Regions from separate parts of the Homo sapiens genome. Here all the other regions are linked to region 3. Evidence: promoter capture Hi-C in human tissues and cell types (Jung and others, 2019). All regions are on one chromosome and are shown on one strand. Each heading gives the region's core, a stretch centred on a gene start or on the middle of the fragment in contact. The rest is flanking DNA. Distances are from core to core; before and after follow the strand shown. Region 1 holds the start of C5AR2 (complement C5a receptor 2). Region 2 holds the start of NAPA (NSF attachment protein alpha). Region 3 holds the start of EMP3 (epithelial membrane protein 3 (MAM blood group)).

Region 1 (2,967 bases), core at 218-2,717, 990 kb before region 3:
ACAAACAGAAAGAACTGCTGAATAAAGAGGTTCCAAAGTTGGGGTTGGAGCCACTTCCTCTTGCTAAGCCTGCGTGGTATGTGTACTTTAAGAATTCACGTTACAGTCTTGTTGCTGTTGCGTGAGCCTAGCGTATACTATGTGCCAGGCACTGCTCCGGTTTTTTTGTTTTTGTTTTTTTGAGACAGAGTCTCACTCTGTCGCCCAGGCTGGAGTGCAATGGTGAGATCTCGGCTCACTGGAACCTCCGCCTCCTCGGTTCAAATGATTCTCCTGCCTCGGCCTCCCGAGTAGCTGGGATTACAGGCACGCACCACCACGCCCAGCTAATTTTTGTATTTTTAGTAGAGATGGTGTTCTGCCATGTTGGCCAGGCTGGTCTTGAACACTTGACTTCAAGTGATCCACCTGCCTCGGCCTCCCAAAGTGCTGGGATTACAGATGTGAGCTACCGCGCCCAGCCAGTTCTGTGCGTTTTAAATGTATCCAACGCTCATAGCAAACATCCACTGCACAGATGAGGAAGTTGAGGTTCAGAGGGGCTGAGGCCCTGAACTTTGATGAGGGTGTGTCGACCTGGAATATGAATCTCATCATTCTGGCCCTTGAGTTCTTGTTCTCAGCCACTGTGATATGCTGGAAGAGGTTAAGAATTGCTATCACGGCTGTGGCTCACTTCTGTAATCCCAGCCCTTTGGGAGGTCGAGGTGTGAGGATGGCTTGAGGCTGGGCAACACAGCAAGGCCGCACCTCTACAGAAAATTTTAAAAAATTAGCCAGGTATGTTGGTGCATGCCTGTAGTCCTAGCTACTCAGGAGGCTGAGGTGGGAGGATCACTTGAGCCTAGGAGTTTGAGGCTGCAGTGAGGCATAATGTTTTCACTGCACGCCAGTCTGAGCGACAGAGCAAGACTCCATCTCTAAAAAAAGTAAAGCATCGCTATGGCCAACAACATCTTCCCATTCTACAGATGGAAAATTGAGGCCCAAGAAAGGAGTTGTTTGTGCTTTTTCTACCACTGAGGCGTTGGGCCCTGCGCTCAGCTGCTGTGGTCTTTTTGTGGAGAATGTGACCCCAGGCTGTCTTCCTCAGAGCCGAGGAGGAGGGAGGGATGTTTGTCTGTCCTGAGGCTGCAGAAGGGAGGGGTTGAACACAGTTAGAGGCCTGGAGGTGGCTGGGGGCAGCTGGCATGTTGTGGGCAAACAGAATCCAGGCCAAGACCTCTAAGGCGTTAAAGAGCAAACCGCATGCAGGTCTGGCTTCCAGGAAGGTGGGACTTCGAGACTAGGGTTGGGGACTTGGGATCAGCCCTCCACCCAACCGAGCCCTCTCCTGCCCTGCCAGCCACCCCGTAATTTTGGGTTCTGTGAGTCACGGGAAGAAGACAGGACAAACACACCCTGAGAGCGAGACAAGGCCACTCCTATTTTGTACTGCTTATAAAGATTCACTGGGACTGGTGAGGTGGCAGTGCTCAGCAGCATCCGACAGGAGCCCTGGCAAACAGGACGGATTTCCAGGACTCTACCAGCTGCCAGACACGGCAGGGAGAGACCCCAGACCTCCTGGGTCCTGGCTGTGGGCCCGGATTGGGCTCCCAAGTGGCGTTTGACTCACGTGGGGACACTCTTGGAAGAGACGGTAAGGATGGAGGCTACAAGGGCGGGAAGGAGGGAGAGAGAGATTGCATGATCTTGGCTTCTCGGAATCATTACTTTCAGAATCTGGGAAGCAGAACTAGAGTTTGAGAAGTGCAGTCTTATTACAGCCACACTGGAACGCACGTCACAGTCCTGGGCTCTTGAATTAACTTGGGCAGCCCAGCAGCAAAGCTCTTGTCAAAGGATCTAAGCATTTTTTTTCTTTCTCTTTTTGGAGACAGGTTTTCATTCTTGTTGCCCAGGCTGGAGTGCAATGGTGCCATCTTGGCTCACCGCAACCTCCACCTCCCAGGTTCAAGGGATTCTCTTGTCTCAGCTGGGATTACAAGCGCATGCCACCATGCCTGGCTAATTTTGTATTTTTAGTAGAGATGGGGTTTCTCCATGTTGGTCAGGCTGGTCTCGAACTCCCGACCTCAGGTGATCTGTCCGCCTTGGCCTCCCAAAGTGCTGGGATTACAGGCGTGAGCCACTGTGCCCTGCCCAAATGGTTTTTCACACACAGATGTATGGGAAACAGCCTCTCTCAAACCTGCAGGAATTCCTGCAGCTTTCGGCAGATCCACCAAACTGTAGCATGTGTAGCAAGCAAGCCCTTTAACTCAGCGATTCCAATTCTTTTCTCTTTCTTTCCTTTTCTCTCTTTCTTTCTTTTGACAGGGTCTCACTCTGTCTCCCAGGCTGGAGTGCAGTGGTGCGATCTTGGCTCACTGCAACCTCCGCCTCCCAGGTTCAAGTGATTCTCCTGCCCCAGCCTGCTGAGTAGCTGGGATTACAGGTGCACGCCACCACACCTAGCTAATTTTTGTATTTTTAGTAGAGATGGGGTTTCACCATGTTGGCCAGGCTGGTCTCCAACTTTTGACCTCAGGTGATCCACCTACCTTGGCCTCCCAAAGTGCTGGGATTACAGGCGTGAATCACCGTGCCTGGCCCCCTCAATGTTCTATCACAAAATCTGTCCACATTCTTGTGTGGTGTTTGTTCATTCTCATCGTGTAGAATATTCCACAGGGTGAACACCCCATGATGTGTTTATCCATTCTGCTGTGGGTGGCTATTTGGACGGTTTCTCATCTTGGGCTGCTGTGAACATTCTGGCACATGTATTCTGGTGAGCATATGTGTTCTTTTGCGGAAAGGAGGCTGATTGCTGGGTCGTGAGGGAGGAATCCTAGAAGATGGATGTTCAGGAATAAAGAATGTTCAGACTCCTTTTTTTTTTTTTTTTTTTTGAGATGGAGTCTTGCTCAGGCTGGAGTGCAGTGGTGCGATCTCGGCTCACTGCAACCTCCGCCTCCTGGG
Region 2 (2,892 bases), core at 232-2,731, 810 kb before region 3:
GCTAACGTGAGTTTTATGCCACGTCATATGTGTTAGTTCTGTCTCCCAGGCCTTTTCCCATCCCTCTTCTCAGCATGTCTCTGTCATCCCTATTACTCGAGGATCACACAGCAGGAATTTGATCCCCCGTTTTGGTTCTCTCAGTCCCCCTGTCTCTCCCTGTTATCCCTCCATCTCCTTGGCCAAGCCACCACCACGCATTCCCCCACCCAGGAGTCTCCAGCCTCAACCCAGGCCTCCTCAGGCTTTTTTCTTTCTTTCTTTCTTTTTTTTTTTTTTTTTTTTTGAGACAGAGTCTCGCTCTGTCCCCCAGGCTGTAGTGCAGTGGCTCGATCTCGGCTCACTGCAACCTCTACCTCCGGGTTCAAGTGATTCTCCTGCCCCAGCCTCCCGAGTAGCTGGGATTACAGGTACCCGCCACCAGGCCCAGATAACTTTTGTATTTTTAGTAGAGACGGGGTTTCACCATGTTGTCCAGGCTGGTCTCGAACTCCCCGCCTCAGATAATCTGCCCACCTCGGCCTCCCAAAGTGCTGAGACCTCCACAGTCTTGACTCCATCATCCCGGGTTCCTCCGTTCAGCTGTCCTTAAACTAGTCACTGCTAACCAGGGCCGTACTCACCCCATGCACCCCCCACACTTCAGACGCGGCTCACCGCTCCTAGGATCATCTAGCCCTGAGCCCCTCTGCCTGGTGTCAGCCCCCTTCAGCCTTCACCCTCACCGCCCAGGGCCCACGCAAATCCACTGCTCCAGGGGTTGAAAAGGTCAGTCCCTCGGGCAGGCGTCCTCAGCCCCAGGCCCCATCACTGCCGCCTGAGAGCCTTCAAACAGACTCCCCTAGAGCTCCGAAAAGCCTCTGGACCTGGCTTCTCTCCCGGACTCCCTCCGTCCCCCCAGGCCGGTCCCCTCCAAGGCTTCAGGACGTACTCCCTCGGTCCAGGTTCTCCCCCGCCCGCTGGCCTGTCTTCGGCCTGGGTCCCCTTCCTCGCCTCAAGATAGTGTCGCCTCGGTCCGTGTGTCCTCAGCCCAAATCCCTTCCGCCATGTCAGACCGTCTCTCCTCAAACCGTGTTGCCCCGGCCCAGGCTCTTGGCCCTCAGCCTGCGTCCCCTCTGCCGCCTCAGGCCATGTCACCTTATTGCAGGTTCCTCTCCGTCCCCTCGGCCCGAGCTCTGCGTGCCCTAACCCGCCACCTCCGAGCGTGACTCCTTCGTCCTCTCAGCCTAGGTCCCGGCCGACCCCTCAGCCCGGTTCTCACCCAAAGAGGCCAGAGAAGAAGGACTGCGAGTTCTTCACTTTGCGCTCCGCCTCGGCCAACAGCGCCATCGCCTCCGCTTCCTTCCCGGAATTGTCCATGGCGGCCACAAAGGGACTCAGCAAAGCGCCTGACCCTGACCCTGGGAAGACTCAGCCGCGGCCGGGCCGCGGAACACAGATCGGTAAAACTCGCCCGGCTGCGTTGACGTCGCACCGGCGCGCGTCGCTTGCGGCCAGGAACCACGTGACTAGCGCTGGCCAACCAGCGGCCTCGTAACGCCGCGCCCGCTCCGCCGGACACGCCCCCACCAGCCGCCGCACGCCGCCCGTGACTCGTGACCCCCCAATCGGCGTCAAGAGACCTCAACGCATGCGCACATACCGGCGAACGGCGCTCCACTCTCTCCCCAGCGCTCTGTACCTCACCTCCCACGTGACCCTGTGGAAGGCAATGGCAGTACCCCCCGCCGAGGCCCCGCCCCACGGTGTTGCTGCTGGATCCTCCTCCACCAATCAGCAGGAGCCCTCGGCTCGCGCTGGGGCGGGGGGTCCCCCACTCGCCCTCCCCGCGGAACTCTGGCACAGTCAGCTGACCGCAGACACTCACGTGACAGCTCGGGGCCCACGCCCGGGTTTGACAGTTCTGCGCAGAACTTAGTCCCGCCCCCGCGGCTGGTCTCGCCGGTTTCTTCACTTGGAAAGGCGTTTGTGGGAAAAGGAAACCGTTCTGCTTTTTCTTGCTCCCTCTGTCGGCCAGTACTAGAACTGCTTTGGGGAGACCGGTGAAGAGAGACTGCAAACAAAAACTTAAGAGGTTCTCTAACTCTGGTTTCATAAAAAATAGCTGAAGAGGGCCGGGCACGGTGGCTTACGCCTGTAATCCCAGCACTTTGGGAGGCCGAGGCGGGCGGATCACTTGAGGTCATGAGTTTGAGACCAGCCCGGCCAACATGGCGAAACCCCGCTCTACTAAAATACAAATATTAACCGGGTGTGGTGGCACACTCCTGTAATCCCAGCTACTGAGGAGGCTGAGAGAGGAGAATCGCTTGAACCGGGGAGGTGGAGGTTGCAACGGGCCGAGATCGTGCCACTGCACTCCAGCCTGGGCGACAGAGTGAGACTTAGTCTCAGAAAAAAAAAAAAAATAGCTGAAGAGAGCGTGTTAAAAAAAAATTCAGATTCGAAGATGGGCGCGGTGTCTCGTGCCTATAATCCCAGCTACTCGGGAGGCGAGAGGATCGCTTGGGCCCAGGAGTTTGAGTCTAGTTCAAGTCCCGCCTTGGGCAACATAGCAAGACTCTGTCTCTAAAAAAAAAAGTTTAGGCTCAAACACACCTCCTGCTGTCCCAGAAAATTGAGTTGCTGGTTTCTGAGACAGGGTCTCACTCTTTGGGTTGTTGGTTTTGGAGACAGGGTCTCGGTCTGTCGCCCAGGCTGGAGTGCAGCAGCACAATCATAGCTCACCTCAGTATAACTTTGTAGTGCCAGAAAGGAAGGAAGTATTCCACACGTGTGCTCACACACAAAATTAGGGGGTATGCCAAAGGAGCCAACTGAAAGAACTCCCAATGGCCAAAGCTGGAACAATTTGAGCATCAAAATAAAGTAGTATTGGATTATAATCCCAAA
Region 3 (2,728 bases), core at 229-2,728:
TTTTGTATTTTTAGTAGAGACAGGGTTTCACCATGTTGGCCAGGCTGGTCTTGAACTCTCGACCTCAGGTGATCCTCCAGCCTTGGCCTCCCAAAGTGCTGAGATTACAGGCATGAGCCACCACGTCCAGCCTATTGTATTTATTTTTCAAGTCACTTATCCTTATCTGAGATTTATCTTCATCATTGATGTTTTCTCTTGTCTGTCTTCCTCTACTAGAATACAAGCTCCATAATACCAGCAGGGCTCATGTCTGTTTTCATTATTAACTCCCAGATCAGAGTACATGTTCAATAAATGTTTGATGAAGGAAGGAACAGGTTAGGTGTGTGAGTGTGCCAGTATTACCTTATTCATTCAGCATAAGTATCAGAATTATTATTATCAGTATTAGTATTTTGTCAGCATTATTATACTCTCAACATAGACTAAGATACTGGAGCCCAGGTGGGTGAAATAATTGGCTCAAGGTCACTGAACCAGGAAATGATGGCGCTGGGATTCTTAGCTTCCGCTTCCTCCCCGCTTCCAGAGTTTCACAAGGTTTTTTTTTTTGTTTGTTTGTTTTTTGTTTTGTTTTGTTTTTTTTTTGCGACAGAATCTCACTTTGTCCCCCAGGTTGGAAGGCAGTGGTGCAAACTCAACTCACTGCAGCCTCCACCTCTCGCGTTCAAGCGATTCTCATGGCTCAGCCTCCCAAGTAGCTGGGATTACAGTCGCCCGCCACCACGCCCGGCTAATTTTTGTATTTTTGATAGAGACGGGTTTCCACCATGTTGGCCAGGCTGGTCTCGAACTCCTGACCTCAGATGATCTGCCCGTCTCGGCCTCCCAAAGTGCTGGGATTACAGGCGTGAGCCACAACGCCCTGCCGAGTTTCACAAATTTCATCTCCCATCCTCTGACCCCCCACCACGGGGCCAACTTCACCAGCCCAATCTCAAGTCCATGCCACAGAAATCTGGCCTCTTTTCCCAGACTCCTATCCAGCTCCAAGCTCCATCAGGGAAAGCAGACATCCGGCCCCAGGGCAAGACCTCAAAACTCAAGGGTCCTGAGAATCGGGCCCTCCCACCCCTGACGCTTGCCCCCCCCAAGAACCCCATTCCAAGAGTTTCTCATCTCAACCCTGGGAGGGAGCCCCAGATGATGTCTGTCTGGAGGGATTGGGTGGGGGCCCAAAGAAAGAGGAACCGGAGTGCCTGGGCCCTCCCACTGGCAGCCGACCTCAGCTGGGTGCGGTGAGGGTGGGTTTATAAAAGGGTCAGTATATATTGAGAGGAGGAGAGAAAGAGAAACGGGAGCAAGAGAGAAGGAGGCCCAGACAGTGAGGGCAGGAGGGAGAGAAGAGACGCAGAAGGAGAGCGAGCGAGAGAGAAAGGGTTCTGGATTGGAGGGGAGAGCAAGGGAGGGAGGAAGGCGGTGAGAGAGGCGGGGGCCTCGGGAGGGTGAAAGGAGGGAGGAGAAGGGCGGGGCACGGAGGCCCGAGCGAGGGACAAGACTCCGACTCCAGCTCTGACTTTTTTCGCGGCTCTCGGTAAGTTTCCAGTCCGTTATTCAGGGCTGGGACTTCTTAATTTACTTGGGAATGTAGCAGTTTGGGAAGGACACCCCCAGGCTGGGAGAGACGTCCCTGACTCTTGGAAATCCTTTTAATTTAATAAGTGATCTCTTAGCACTTGAGGTGGGGATATGGGAAGGGGTGGGGCCCGGCAAAGTTTTGGGGTCCCAGCAGAGCCCTCCACTGGAAAACTTCCTGCAGTTTTTCCCTCAGCGGTGTCCACTGTCCTCTGGGGTCCCTGAGATCAGGGCATTGCATGAGAACACCCCAAATCTGGGAGACCTCTAGGTCCCCTGTTCCTGGGCACCAAAGAGTCCTGGGAGGCTAACTCCTTCTTGGGCCTCTCTTCCCCCCAGCGCGAATCCTATCCATTTCCTCCAGAAGATGTCCAACAGTCACCAGTCTGGCAGCAGGGTGGGGTGAGGACCTCGTGGACATAGCCAGGGGCTGGGGTTTCCCTGGTGCTTAGAGATGGGGGGGGGTGGGGATGAGTCACCAGATGACTCACCAGGTCCCCCTCCTCCCCTCAACCCAGGAGAGGAGTGGTGTGAGTCAAGAATGCCTGTTGCTGGGGGCAGCTCCTCAATCCTGATGTCGGGGTGCAGGGTGGGGTCTCAACTTGAATTTTCACTATCTGGCCTGTATGTAACCCAGAGTCAGGGTTCTGGGGAGAGAGGAGCCACATTGCTAGTCCTCCTCATTCAAGGAACCCAAGAGTCCATCTTTGGCCCTCTCCACCCCTCCAGCCAATGGGGATCTCAGGAATCCAGGCCCCAGCGGTCTCCTCCCTGAGAGACCCAGGAGTCTGCACCCATGCCCTTCCTCCATCAGGAGACATCTCACCTGCCTTTATGCCAAATTTTTTTTTTTTTTTGAGACGGAGTCTTTCTCTGTCACCCAGGCTGGAGTGCAATGGCATGATCTTGGCTCATTGCAACCTTTGCCTCCTGGATTCCAGTGATTCTCCTGCCTCAGCCTCCCGAGTAGCTGGGATTACAGGTGTGCACCACCACACCCAGCTAATTTTGTATTTTTAGTAGAGATGGGGTTTCACCATGTTGGCCAGGCTGGTCTCGATCTCCTGACCTCAGGTGATCCTCCCGCCTCGGCCTCCCAAAGTGCTGGGGTTATAGGCGTGAGTGTGCCTGGCCTGTGCCAACCTCTTGA

The links. Contacts are between HindIII fragments. The study calls those that stand out against the background at their distance.
Region 1: the fragment with the promoter of C5AR2 here is called in contact with the fragment with the promoter of EMP3 in region 3 in 1 of the 25 tissues and cell types used here (dorsolateral prefrontal cortex).
Region 2: the fragment with the promoter of NAPA here is called in contact with the fragment with the promoter of EMP3 in region 3 in 1 of the 25 tissues and cell types used here (dorsolateral prefrontal cortex).

The regions. Positions count from the first base shown.
Region 1 is chr19:47,330,708-47,333,674 of GRCh38, forward strand. C5AR2 (complement C5a receptor 2) reads left to right here and starts at 1,468. Exons shown (of 2, transcript NM_001271749.2): 1 at 1,468-1,642. The HindIII fragment of the contact is 20,876 bases long and covers 1-2,967 here.
Region 2 is chr19:47,513,582-47,516,473 of GRCh38, forward strand. It overlaps NAPA (NSF attachment protein alpha), which reads right to left and starts at 1,482. Exons shown (of 11, transcript NM_003827.4): 1 at 1,262-1,482. The coding sequence starts at 1,359. RefSeq lists a silencer at 1,431-1,770 and an enhancer at 1,861-2,130. The HindIII fragment of the contact is 27,973 bases long and covers 1-2,892 here.
Region 3 is chr19:48,324,074-48,326,801 of GRCh38, forward strand. It overlaps EMP3 (epithelial membrane protein 3 (MAM blood group)), which reads left to right and starts at 1,479. Exons shown (of 5, transcript NM_001425.3): 1 at 1,479-1,537. RefSeq lists a silencer at 494-725 and enhancers at 1,303-1,352, 1,953-2,002, 2,293-2,362. The HindIII fragment of the contact is 22,631 bases long and covers 1-2,728 here.